4 separate regions of the Homo sapiens genome follow, and regions 1, 2 and 3 are each linked to region 4. The links are contacts of gene promoters, found by promoter capture Hi-C in blood cells and fetal thymus (Javierre and others, 2016). All regions are on one chromosome and are shown on one strand. The core of a region is centred on a gene start or on the middle of the fragment in contact, and the rest is flanking DNA. Distances in the headings are between cores, read along the strand shown.

The links. The method cuts DNA at HindIII sites, captures the fragments that hold promoters and counts their contacts. A CHiCAGO score of 5 or more calls a contact.
Region 1: a contact is called between the fragment with the promoter of MSRB2 here and the fragment with the promoter of DNAJC1 in region 4, in 8 of 17 cell types (activated CD4 T cells, non-activated CD4 T cells, naive CD4 T cells and 5 more). The highest score is 9.5, in activated CD4 T cells.
Region 2: a fragment that was not itself captured here is called in contact with the fragment with the promoter of DNAJC1 in region 4 in 10 of 17 cell types (total CD8 T cells, naive CD4 T cells, total B cells and 7 more); the score reaches 8.6 in total CD8 T cells.
Region 3: a fragment that was not itself captured here is called in contact with the fragment with the promoter of DNAJC1 in region 4 in 3 of 17 cell types (naive CD4 T cells, M2 macrophages and total CD4 T cells); the score reaches 6.0 in naive CD4 T cells.

The regions. Positions count from the first base shown.
Region 1 is chr10:23,093,767-23,096,981 of GRCh38, reverse strand. MSRB2 (methionine sulfoxide reductase B2) reads right to left here and starts at 1,403. Exons shown (of 5, transcript NM_012228.4): 1 at 1,256-1,403. The coding sequence starts at 1,373. It overlaps LOC107984215 (a long non-coding RNA gene), which reads left to right and starts at 1,703. Exons shown (of 3, transcript XR_001747394.2): 1 at 1,703-2,162. RefSeq lists a silencer at 1,126-1,595. The HindIII fragment of the contact is 9,169 bases long and covers 1-3,215 here.
Region 2 is chr10:23,005,347-23,008,760 of GRCh38, reverse strand. ARMC3 (armadillo repeat containing 3) reads right to left here. Exons shown (of 19, transcript NM_173081.5): 14 at 1,780-1,877; 15 at 387-485. All of the region lies in intron 2 of LOC107984215 (a long non-coding RNA gene), which reads left to right. Among named protein-coding and RNA genes, the nearest start is that of ARMC3, 79 kb to the right of the region's middle. The HindIII fragment of the contact is 679 bases long and covers 1,366-2,044 here.
Region 3 is chr10:23,043,757-23,047,000 of GRCh38, reverse strand. All of the region lies in intron 2 of LOC107984215 (a long non-coding RNA gene), which reads left to right. Among named protein-coding and RNA genes, the nearest start is that of MSRB2, 50 kb to the left of the region's middle. The HindIII fragment of the contact is 2,050 bases long and covers 346-2,395 here.
Region 4 is chr10:22,002,394-22,005,465 of GRCh38, reverse strand. It overlaps DNAJC1 (DnaJ heat shock protein family (Hsp40) member C1), which reads left to right and starts at 1,736. Exons shown (of 12, transcript NM_022365.4): 1 at 1,736-2,253. The coding sequence starts at 2,032. RefSeq lists enhancers at 1,483-1,612, 1,643-1,692, 1,572-2,072 and a silencer at 1,733-2,102. The HindIII fragment of the contact is 6,929 bases long and covers 1-3,072 here.

The DNA of each region.
Region 1 (3,215 bases), core at 154-2,653, 1.1 Mb before region 4:
TTTATTGTTGCTGGAGAACTTCAGATCCCAGGGCAATTCATTAGGCTGCTTCTGACAGCAGCAATTACAGCCATGAAGTAGTTACCGCTAAAACCACCATCCTTTTTCAAGGGGTTATAGAGAGCTCGTCGGTAACTGTGACCTGTTTCTATCACCTGTGGTTCTCAGCAATACAATGCTTGGCACACAGTAGGCTCACAGCAAATGTCATCAGACTGACTAGAGACACCAGTGATTAGAAAGGCCATAGCTGGAAGTCAAGTTGGATGAGCTAACATTCCACAACGCCAACGCTTTTATTTAGTTACGTATTCTTTCAATATTGCATTTCGAAAACTTCAGGGGCTAAAAAGAGCTCAGAATGAGTTGGTACATTTTCATCAGTTGGGTATCTCTGAATGTCTTCAATGAACACATATAAAATTGGATTCAGAGTGGGTCAGTCTGGCAACCGCCCAGGAAGCCAATCCCCTGGGGCACTAAGTTACCCTGAAATAGAACTGAAATACAGGGGTAGCTGGCACAGGTCTCCCGAGGTGACTCCTTCCTGCTTGGTGAAATGTGCAGGTACCCAGATCCAAGAGAGGATCCAAAAGTATTTAGCAGAAACACACACACACACACACACAGAGAGAGAGAGAGACACACACACACAGGCTCGCCCTGGTCTCTGTCTCAGTCATTAACAATGGCTGTCACCTTAAAGAAGGAACAAATGATCAACCCAGTCTCCCTGGCTCTTAGACACATTTATGGGAAGTCAGCAGGGCAGGAAACACTCACAGGAACCCCAAGTCTGAACTGCCTGCTTCTCAGATGCTGGAAGGAAGCCCGCGGAACTACGAAGAGGGCTGCAATGCAAAATACTAGGGGCCTTCGCAGGGGCGCGCGGGCCGGGCTGCTACAGCCCAGGCCCCGGGCCTTCGCCTGGAGTCCCCGATAGGGGTCAGAGGCCCCCGAGCCCCACTTATGCCCCCACTCCCCGAGCCAAGAAAAAAAAAATTATGCGCACATTTAGGGGGATCATTTGTTCATTTCCTCGGATTCTCACAGGGGTCAGTCCCCACCCTGCCGCCACCAAGTTTACAATCCACTGTCCCAGATCCTCGGGCTGGGGGGGGGGAGGGGCGCGCCGAGGAGGGCTTAGTAGGAGGGCAGCGCCCGGCCTGGACCGGCCCTAGGCTCCCGGGTGCAGCCGGTGAAATGAAGCCGAAAGCCGTAGGCGGCGGCGGGGCCTGCGGGACCCGCGTCCTACCTGCCTCCCCCAGTCCCGGCCCGGTGCCGGGCCCGCCGCCGCCCGCTTGGCCCCGCACCGCCCGCCGAGGCGCAGTTCCGAGGGTCAGGCCCCGGAGCAACCAGAGGAGCCGCGCCATGACGCCCGCTCCGGCGCCGCTCCGCCCTCTGCCCTCTGCCCGTCTCTGCCCCTGCTCCCATCCCACCCCTCCCCCATTCTCTCCCGTCCGCCTGCGCTAGTCGGCCTCCCTCCCCACGCTCCGCCCACACCGCCAGTCCCCTCGTCTCCCTCCCCCTCTTCTCCCTCCCCTGCCCCTCCCTCCTTCCCTCCTTCCCACCTGCTCCTCCCACTATGTGCCCTGGGCCCTCCCAGGTCCCCGCCCCTCTTTCCTCCCACTCTGCCTCTCTCTCCCCCTCCCTCTTCCTCTCCTTTTCCCCTTGCCTTTCCTCCCCCTTCCTCTCCCCCTTCCTCTCTCCCTTCCCTTCCATGAGACCCTCCCCAACCCATCTCTGCATCTCCCAGCTCCTCCCACTCCTGCTCCTCCCTCGCCCTGCCCCCCTCCACCTATCCCAACTCCACTCATCCGCAGCCCAAACACTGATCTGTTTTAGTTTGCATTTTCTAGAGTCGTCCATAAATGGAATCATCCCATATGTACTTGATTTTGTCTGGCTTCTTTCACTCAACATAGTTACTTTGACATGCCTGCGTGTTTTTGCATGGAACAATCATTCATTGCTTCCTGAGCAGTATTCCATTTATGGATATACCACCGTGTGTTTAGTCAGCACTTGATTTAGCCTGCTTTCAATTTTTCCTGATTAGAACTACAGCTGCTAGGAACATCCCTGTGCAAATCTTTGTACAGACATATACGGTTTTTCCTCTCTGGGGTAAATACCTGGAAGTGGAATGCCCAGGTCGTAAGGTAGGTGTAACCATTTAAGAAACTACTATACTGTTTTCCCAAGTGGTTTTTTTCTTTACCTTCCCACTAGCAGTCTATGCGAGTTCCAGTTGTTCTTCATCCTTGCCAACACTTGAAAGTCCAGAGATTTTAACTGTAGATGTTCCGGTTCTGTGTAGTGGTAGCTCATTGTGGCTTTATTATGCATTCTCTAATCGTTAATGATGTTAAGCATCTTTTCATGTGCGTATTTGCAGCGAGTGTATTTTCCTTGGTGAAGTGTCCGTTCAGATCTTTTGCCCATTTAATGTTGAGTTGTTTCATTATTGAGCTTAGAACACTTTATATATTTTGGATGCAAATCTTTTATCAAACATATGCTTTACAAAGATTTTTTTTCCCAGTCTCTTGTTTGTCTTTTCTGTCTCCTAATATTGTCTTGGGAAGAGCAGTTTTTAATTTTGATGAAGCCCAATTTATCAATTTGTTAATGGATTGTTCTTTTTTTGGTATCATATTTAAGAAATCTTTGCCTAATCCAAGATCACAAAGATTCTCTCCTATGTTTTGTTCTAAAATTTTTATAGTTCTAGGTTTTACATTTAGGTCTCTGACCGATTTAGAATTTTTATATATGGCCAAAATTTTTGTTTTGTTTTGTTTATCTGTTTTGTTTTTTGCATATCTATATCCAGTTGTTCCAGCACCATTTTTATTGATTGATTGATTGATTGATTGAGACAGAGTCTCTGTCGGCCAGGCTGGAGTGCAGTGGCACGATCTTGGCTCACTGCAACTTCCATCTTCCAGGCTCAAGCAATTCTTCTGCCTCAGCCTCCTGAGTAGCTGGGATTACAGGCGTGTGCCACCACGTCTGGCTAATTTTTGTATTTTTAGTAGAGACGGGGTTTCACCATGTTGGCCAGTCTGGTCTTGAACTCCTGATCTCAGGTAATCTGCCTGCCTCGGCCTCCCAAAGTGCTGGGATTACAGGCGTGAGCCACCAGGCCTGGCTCCTAGCACCAATTTTTAAAAGACTACTCTTTCTCCACTGAACTGTTTTTGAATCTGTCA
Region 2 (3,414 bases), core at 456-2,955, 1.0 Mb before region 4:
ACATTACATTTGCATTTAGAGCTTACAAGGCATTTTTACTTCATTATACAATTTTTACTTCATTATATAACTTGATTCCTTTCCCCATGATGAAGCCAGGGACCCGGTGTTATTTCGTCCACAGCTAAGGAAACGAAACCCACACAGACACTAAGTCATGTGGCCCAAATCACTGCAGGTCCACAGGGCGAAATAGAAGGTGAAACCAGATTTCCTGGCTCCTATTCCAGAGATCTTTCCCATAGCAATGTAAAAGGCAATTATGCAATTGTATTACCATAAGAAGAATAAAAATCAAGTTGCCCCAATCTAAAATCTAAAACATTTTTTCACACTCAAATTAAAGGGGAAGCTGTTTGCATACAGATAAAACATCATTTTCTTACTTGTTCTTTTCTTTACTTGATCTTCTTAAGGAAGATGAAGAAGAAATACTTCGTCCATAACCAACATCTGATTTATCTTCCATAGATGAAGGTGGAGAACTAAAATTTTACACATTTAAAATTATATATAGATTAAAATTATTTGTCAACAGATGGTTTTATTCCACGAAACAGATTTTTTTCTGAAAGTCATAACTGAAGCTGACTTTTAACAGTGACATACTGTTTTTAAAGTATAAAGGAGAAGTCATTTTTTCTTTGTTTGTTTTTTGAGACAGGATCTCACTCTATCGCCCAGGCTGGAGTGCAGTGGTGCGATGATGGCTCACTGCAGCCTTGACCTCCGGGGCTCAAGCGATCCTCCCACCTCAGTCCCCCAAGTAGCTGGGACTACAGGCATGTGCTACCATACCCAGCTAATTTTTGTATTTTTTGTATAGATGGGGTTTCACCGTGTTGCCCAAGCTGCTCTCAAACTCCTGAGCTCAAAGGATCCTCCTGCATCAACCTCACAAAGGGTTGGGATTATAGGCATGAGCCACTGCAAGAAGACTATTATAAAGCCTTTCATAAGCTAGAACAGAAATTATTTGTATAAAATGTATCACATAACTACTATATGGATATATAGATATACACGATCTCTCGCTCTCTCTCTTTTTTTTTTTTTTTTTTTGAGACGGAGTCTTGCTCTGTTGCCAGGCTAGAGTGCAGTGGCAGTGCAATCTCAGCTCACTGCAACATCCGCCTCCCGGGTTCAAGTGATTCTCCTGCCTCAGCCTCCTGAGTAGCTGGGATTACAGGCGTGCGCCACCACACCCAACTAATTTTTGTATTTTTTAGTAGAGACAGGGTTTCACCATGTTGGCCTCGATCTCTTGACCTCGTGATCTGCCCGCCTCGGCTCCCAAAGTGTTGGGATTACAGGTGTCAGCCACCGTGCCCGGCCATGGTCATTTTAAAGAAGACCATGGAAGCTTTAATTTTTAGCTCTATCATTTACTTCTTATTTCAAAGAAAAATGTTGGGTGGTAACTGTACTCCAGCACATAGTCCTGGAGAATTGTAAACATGATTCATCTCGGTTTGCTGCTATTTACACTTTCTTCAATGACTCCATGGTAAGAGGCCTTGACTTCAGAATACACTTGAAATTGACTGGCAGTATAGAGTCAAAGAAAGAGAGCAGAGAGTGCATTGATTTGCAGTGGTGGCTATTTCATGGTTATTCCATGTCGGGCTATGAGTTTATGAGCCAGTGTTTATTTTCATGGAGGTGCTAGATACAGGAGAAAAGGGTCTGGGAATCTTTGCATATTCACACGTTGGTGGAGAAACAACAACAACAAGCAGTATGTGCTTCCCTTCATCCCCTCTCCCTGCAGAGACTCACACGTAAGATTTACTGTTGATTAAGAGTACAGCCCGTAGGTCACTTGGTTCTTGTAAGCAGAGCTCCTTCAAAGGCAACAGTTTGGTGCCGGGATTTATCTGTGAGATAATTTAAGGACCAAAAAGTAGTATCTGCAGGGGTCATATTTTCGAAAATGAATACAGATAGAATATATTCTCAGCTGTTTGCGGTGTCTCATTTCACACACACAAACACACACATGTACAATATACATATATAAAATTAGAAATAGGAACCTGAAGCTTGTGGATGTTCTTGCCTTTGGGCAGGACAGATCCAGTTCCTTATCATCTCGATTGCTTTACACTCGGCTGTTTCATCCCATCATTATCATCTTGGCCCCTGGAAGTATTTGGATTGGCAAATCCATCTATATACCTAAGGGAGAGCTGACTGCCTGCAAAAGTAACTGAATACTGGAACAGATGACTAAAAGTGTTGTGAGTGTATCTAAAAGTAGGCTAGACAAAGCCCTGTGCAGGCAGTTTCACAAGCCTGGAGGAAGAGGGCTAGACTAGATCACTTTTGAGATCTTTTTCCAATTAAGTTATAGTTGAATCCCTTTCTCATCCAAGATACATTTCATGGTCCTTTGGGAAGAAGGCAAAAGAGAGCCTTTTAAAATAAGACCAATCCTGTCATTCTTCTGCCCAGGACACTGCCACGGTTCCTGTTCCATTCAGAGTAAAGGCCTTTAACCTGGCCTTCGTTAGCTCTCTGGTCTAGGGTCTGCTCTCCTCGCACTTTGCTAGCCCAGCTCTAGCTGCACCGGCCTTCCTGCTGTGCCTAGCACATGCCAAACATATATTCACCACACGGCTCTTGCACTGCTTGATTCTTCTGCCTAGAAAACAACCCCAGATTTGCCCAGGACTTCCCCCAGCCCCAGATTTGCCCGGGACTAAGGTCCTCACCTGCTGCAAGTTTTGGCTTGGAAATGATCACCCTCTCAGTGATACCCACCTGACTGCAACTTCTAAAATTGCAACCGCCCACCTCAGGGCTCCCCAGCATTTCAGAGCCCCTCACCCTCCCTCTGCCCAGCTCTCTTCTCCCTCCATGGCACCTCTCATTTCTTTTTTTTTTCCCCCTTTTTTGAGATGGAGTCTAGCTCTGTTGCCCAGGCTGGAGTACAATGGTGCCATCTCGGCTCACTACAACCTCTGCCTCCCAGGTTCAAGTGATTCTCCTGCCTCAGCCTCTCGAGTAGTTGGGATTACAGGTGCGTGCCACCATGCCCAGCTAATTCTTGTATTTTTAGTAGAGACAGGGTTTCGCCATGTTGGTCAGCTGGTCTCCAACTCCTAACCTCAGGTGATCCACCCGCCTCGGCCTCCCAAAGTGCTGGGATTACAGGCGTGTGCCACCGCACCAAGCCAGTGCCTCTCATTTTTACCCTGGGATATCATTTATTTCAGTATCATGTTTGGTGTTTATTCTCTGTCCTCCAGCACTGGTACCATGGAAGCGGAGACCTTGGTCTCCTTTGTTCACTGACGTATTCACAGCCTCCAATATCCGAAACTTATAACAATATTTACTGAATGAATCAGAGCATCCCCCTTTAAAAAAGAAATTGTCTCGTTAAATGTTTTAAAACTTCATGACCAAACA
Region 3 (3,244 bases), core at 121-2,620, 1.0 Mb before region 4:
GGGGCATTTTAATTATCCTGTAAGTGTTTTTAACTCAGCAGTAATGTTTACATAGCTAGTAATCATGGCTCTCAGGCATGGTGAGAGTTTTACTGTTGTTAAGTTTTGTGATGCTCTTTAAAGCCGGCTAGTATAGGTTTCATATTGTTACTTCTGAGTGGGACTCTGAAGTCTGTTGCTGGCGATTCATTGCTCTCTTTTTATTATTTATTCTATTATTATCTTATTTAGTTAAGGAAAATAATAACTGCATAAAGAAAATCTCCTCATTCAACAGTTAATTTTTCTTTTCATTCTAATCCTCAAAGGAGCAAATAATTGCATACAAGAAAAATAAGCTAAGCTTTCTATCCTGTAAGAGTCTATGCAACTAGCGTATTTATCGCTCTCTCTTATTTGTATTAATAAAATGAGACTTTTAATAAAACAATTTTCTGGAAAGCTAAATAAATGAAATCACAGAGCTAGAAAATTGTGTATGCAGATAATGACTATCAATGAGTTAGCAGATAAATGACTTGATAATACAGATATAAATGCATTCATCTAGGCTTTTCAAAGTTTTTCTAAAAGTAAAGACTGTAGAATCAAAAGGACAGCTAGACACAAACTCATATTTTTCAAAGAAAGGAACCTATAAATAAACTAATTGGACTATCACTCGATTTGTATGTCAGATATCTGAGTACTTACAGAGGCCGCTGTTTGCTTCAGCTGTTCTCATCAGTATTATTAACGACTACTTAAAAGTGCTTGATTCCATTTGTATGCCAGCTGTTCTTGTGTAAAACAAACTGGGACTTTCTCAAGATTCAGAGCCTGACTGTCTGCAGCATTTGGGGGCTGATACCTTTGAGCTGGAAAAGGAAATTAATGACTCTTAGCTCATCACTCTGAGGTCAGACCCAGACGTTTGTGACTGAAATATACCTAAAGCAGATGCTGCTCACTGGGGACTTGTCAAAATGGGAGCCTGCTCCTTTCCAAGTTCTGGTGGAAAGAAAGATCTTACCCTATATGGAGCCTTATACATTGTTAGCAGGTTAACAAGAGCCCAAGTCATCTTAACTACACAAACAACCATACTTTAAAAGGTGATAAGGCGAGGTGGGATGGCTCACACCTGTAATCCCAGCACTTTGGGAGGCTAAGGCGAGTGGATCACCTGAGGTCAGGAGTTCGAGACCAGCCTGGCCAACATGGCGAAACCCCGTCTCTACTAAATATACAAAAATTAGCCCAGCATGGTGGTGGATGCCTGTAGTCCCAGCTACTTGGAAGGCTGAGGCAGGAGGATCACTTGAGCCCGGGAGGCAGAGGTTGCAGTGAGCCAGGATTGTGCCACTGCACTCCATGCTGGGTGACAGAGCGAGATTCTGTCTCAAAAACGAAACAAGAAAAGGTAATAAGTATGCCAGTATGCAAGGGGAGGCATTCAAAGTCACAGGCAAGCTCTGTCCGCCAAGCAGCAATACTGAGTCATATAACCATAGGAAGTAATGCTGTATCCTCTCTTAATGAAACACTCACACACAGGTAGCAAAGGTGTTGGTGATGGGGAGTGATTTCAGACATTAGCTCCAAAGACAGAATTTCTGCATTTTGACATTCTATTCTACAAATTCAAAAGTAAAGGTGTGATGCTGGGCACTGTGACACACGCCTGTAATCCCAGCACTTTGGGAGGCTGAGGCGGGTGGATCACTTGCGGTCAGGAGTTCAAGACCAGCCTGGCAATATGGTGAAACCCCGTCTCTACTAAGAATACAAAAATTAGCTGGGTGGTGGTGGTGTACGCCTGTAATTCCAGCTACTCGGGAGGCTGAGGCAGGAGAATTGCTTGAGCCTGGGAGTTGGAGGTAGCAGTGGGCCAAGACGGCGCCAGTGCATTCCAGTCTGGGCAACAGGGTGAGATCCTGTCTCAAAAAAAAAAAAAAAAAGTAACCGTGTGGTCATCATATTTGTTACACTGAAAGGCCAAAGGAAATCAGTACCTAATCAGAAATGGGAGTGATTTTCTTTACCACCCAACTACTTTCAAAAATATCCAAAAGAAAATAAAAATGAATTCCAATTCCATTTTAGTCTTTAAGATCAGTTAGTTTAAGGCATTCAGATAGTCAACAAATATTATTCAAGTTATCCGTTTGCAAGGAGCTCTTGAGAGTAAGGTGTATGCCCAACATAGAATTCCTTTCCATCTCTTCAGGAGAGATCAAAGCATAATAGCTAATAGTTGTCAAATGCTTACAATTGTTAAAGCAAAATAAAAATGGAGGCCACAGTTTAGGTATACCCAAAGCCCAGCTGCCCGTAGCTGTGTAAACAAAACTTAAGTCATCCTGATTTTCCCAAACCTTTCACCATAAAGGTAAACATAACACAAATGTAAGCTTTTTGTCTTTATCAGACTGATTCAGTGAAATTAAACCAATAACCTATCAATAAATCAGCTTAAACAGTTTGGTTTGCCTTAATAAAGACTATATGACAGCCAATTATGAAAAAGACCAAAATCCTTCCTCCTTTGTGCTCTATGAACTGCACTGTTACTGCTGTAAAATTGAGACATTGAGGTCTCCCAGTTTGTGAACTATTCTTTTGTGTGCAGGATAAACTCTTAACATTCTAACTGGATCTGATTTTATTTTTGACGTTATGTTCAGTACTGTACATGGACTTATTTACTTCTGAGAGCAACCTTATGAAGTGGTTACTATTATTACATCCCCATTTTAGAGATGTAGAAACCAAGACATTTGCTAAAGATCCCACAGCTAAGAATGGTTTAAGTAGGACACTCCAACCCGAGCCTCTCTGACTCCAAGGATCTGCATGCTTCTAACCATGATATCACATACATGTGCATTAAGAAAACAGCAACCCCAGGCAGTAAGCATATGAAAAAATGCAAAATGAGTGCCAAAGATGCTATGAGAGAAGGTCACCAGTAGAGCATAAGGCATCAGGGGAAGCTTAGGGAGGAAAGTGAGGCTTGATCTGAATTTGGACTTGAACCTGTAGACAAAAGATTAGTAGGGCAATGTAGTATGATATAGCTGATAACCACCATACTTCTTTACAAATATTCCTTTGGGGTTGCCAGAAAAGAAAGTTGGCCTTGATGACTTATGAGGCCCATCTATTGTGACCTTTTTAATGTAATTATAAATAATATACATATATAATAAGCTTTTATATATCTGTATAAAACATGTGAATATCTATATTTATACATATTATA
Region 4 (3,072 bases), core at 487-2,986:
CAATTGCACTGTAATTTTTGGGACAATGACTGAATAGGTAAAGAGGCCAAGCTAGAAGTCTAAATATGAATATCACTGTGGTCTTTGCAGGAACCTGGACAAGCAAGAAGATCATCTCAGGGTGGACAAGTGTCATTGGAGCTGGGCAGCATGAATTTTTGAGTAATACCTTATGTCCATGAGAAGTATTATTAATAGAATCCAATTCTGTTTCAGCATGGCCTTAGAAAGAGGATGGGCTATCTTTAGATGGAGTAAGTCCCCGAGGTTCTCAGACAACATAAAGGTAAAACTCAAAAGGGAAATACTAGGCTGTCTGCTACAAGATCGGGGTAAGAATCCCAGATTTGTGGCAATATGGCACCAGTTTCAAAGGTTTTATTGCACTTAATCTAATGATCAAATTAGGAGAAAAGATGAATGTTACTATAATATGTAAAAGTAGTGCTTAAGATCATTAATTTCATCTTATTTCGATGTTTTGTTCATTGAATAAACAGTAACCTAATTTAGGGACTTGGTAAAGATGACGTTCACTTTAAGAAAACTGATATAACCAAAAATAAACTAGGCTGGGGGTGGTGGCTCATGCCTGTAATCCCAGCAGTTTGGGAGGCTGAGGTGGGTAGATCACATCATGTGAGGTCAGGAGTTTGAGACCAATCTGGCCTACACGGTGAAACCCCGTCTCTACTAAAAATACAAAAAATTAGCCAGGCATGGTGGCAGGAGTCTGTAATCCTAGCTACTCGGGAGGCTGAGCCAGGAGAATTGCTTGAACGTGGGAGGCAGAGGTTGCAGTGAGCCGAGATGGTGTCATTGCACTCCAGCCTGTGCAACAAGAGCAAAACTCCGTCTCTAAATAAATAAATAAATAAACTAAAAATCTGTGGTAGGGGGAATGGTGGTAGGGAGGTAGTCACAGGATTCAGTTCAACTAATTGAGTGCTCTCATGTGCTATGCATTGTGCTAAGCACACAATAATAAAGTCCACACAAGAGAATTGTGGTGGAGAAAATAACTTGAAAAGAGCTTGAACAGAAGCAATGCAAGACTAGAAGGTGAGACATTGTTATGGGAGAGGAGGTTTTTAGCCTGTCTTTTAAAACAGAAACATCTCAATTGAGGTCTGTTTTCAAAGGAACCCCAACTGGAGGTGGGCTAAGGTGGATAAACTACATTTCTCCTCCAACTATGATTGAGTCACCATTATTAACTGTTAATTCTACCAGGTCATTTTATGGTATTATGCCTGTAAATCTTAATTCATAATTAGAAGTATACTTTTTGTTTTGGTTTCAATTCCTTTTCTGCTCTACCTCTCTCTACTTACTAGATTTGCCCCTTTTAGAACCTGGTTCAACTTGTCCTGTCTTCTTTGCTGATGGACTAATTAAATGCATGGAAGCCATAATCAATTAATCAGGCTTCAAATATGCTTTTAGTGTTCGATAGCTAGGGGAGAGGAAGACAGTAGCTATTTCAGGGGAAGTCCACGTGGGGCGTTCCAGATGGACGCGAGATGGCTATAACCGTCCCTGTCTCTCAGCCCATGTGGGCGCAGGTACAGCTGCTCCGTGCGCGCCAGTGATTGAGAGGCATTTCACCCAGGCCCAGATCTGGGGCGCCAGGCGTCCAGGCTTCCGGCCACGCCCCCTTCCCGCGGTTGCTAGGAGACATGATGTCACCGGAAGCGAGGCCTGGGATAGGCTGAGGCGAAGGGAAGCCTCACCCACTGTGCAGCCCAGGCGCCGGGCGCTGCCTCTACAGCTGTGTGTAGGCCTGGGGGCGAGGGTCTTCGGAACGTAGCGCTGGCTGCGGCCCCGCCCGCCTACCCACCCGCCCGTCCGGCAGCCGGCTCCCGCCGCCTCCGCGCTCTGTCTGGGGCCAGCCACCTGGCGGGCCGCTCCGGTGCGCCTGCCCGCGCTTTTCACTGACAGGCGCTGTTCCCCACAGCCAGCGCCGCCCGCCACGTCCCAGCTCTCGGCCAACGGAGCTGCGCGGCGGGTGACCTTTCCGAGCCCAGCGCGATGACGGCTCCTTGCTCCCAGCCGGCGCAGCTTCCTGGACGCCGCCAGCTCGGGCTGGTGCCGTTCCCGCCGCCGCCGCCGCGGACGCCGCTGCTGTGGCTGCTGCTGCTGCTGCTGGCCGCCGTGGCGCCGGCGCGCGGCTGGGAGAGCGGAGACCTGGAGTTGTTTGACTTAGTGGAGGAGGTGCAGCTCAACTTCTACCAGTTCCTCGGGGTGCAGCAGGTAAGCAAGGAGGCGCGCGGGGCCGGGCGGAGAGGGGCCAGGGCAGGCGTCAGGCGACCCGGTTCCTCAGAGACAGCCGGACACGTAGGGCAGGGCTTGGTCACCCCGGGCTCTGGCTGCCCTCAGCTCGGGTCACCGGGGTCCTCAGCCTTGGAAGGACGTGTCCGTCTTCCCCAGATCTTTACTCCTGCTTCAACTTTTCTAGTCCCAGCCCCAGTGACAGGCTGGACGGCGCCACTAGCCTAGGGTGGCGATGCCTTCTCTCTGCTCCGGCGTTCTGGGGAAGAGCCTTCCCCCTCCAGCTGTGCTGGAGGAAGAACGAAGAGTGGTGTGGGTAGACTTTTTTTTTTTTTTAATTTAACACCTACCTTTTGCCTTCCTGTCCCCCTGAATGTGAGAAAGAGCAGCCGCTTCTCACCCTAAACTGTCATCTTCCACCGATACTTACCTCATCCTTATTCTTATTTCAGCTGCCTCCCCTCCTCTTCCCTTCTGGGAAAGTAGGAATGCACTGTGGCCAGTGTCTGTGTTGCAAAAGTTTTTCTTACTTTGTACTTCGTCATCTTTTTAGCCTGTTAGGTAGATGTTTGTTTCGCTTTCGCAGTTTAGAAATCTGGAGGAATTTGAAGCGTCTAACCAGGTTGGAGGTGTTAAGTTTTTTGAGCAGCAAAGGACTTGGGATGCGATTGGAAGAGAAGCCCCCGGTCAGTAATGTAGGAATGGGTTTTTTTTTCCCCTTTTCCTTTTGTTTCATTTCGTTTTCTTCTATAGCTTAAGACATTAACTTGTAAAATCCATTTGTTGCTTTTTAGTTCTACC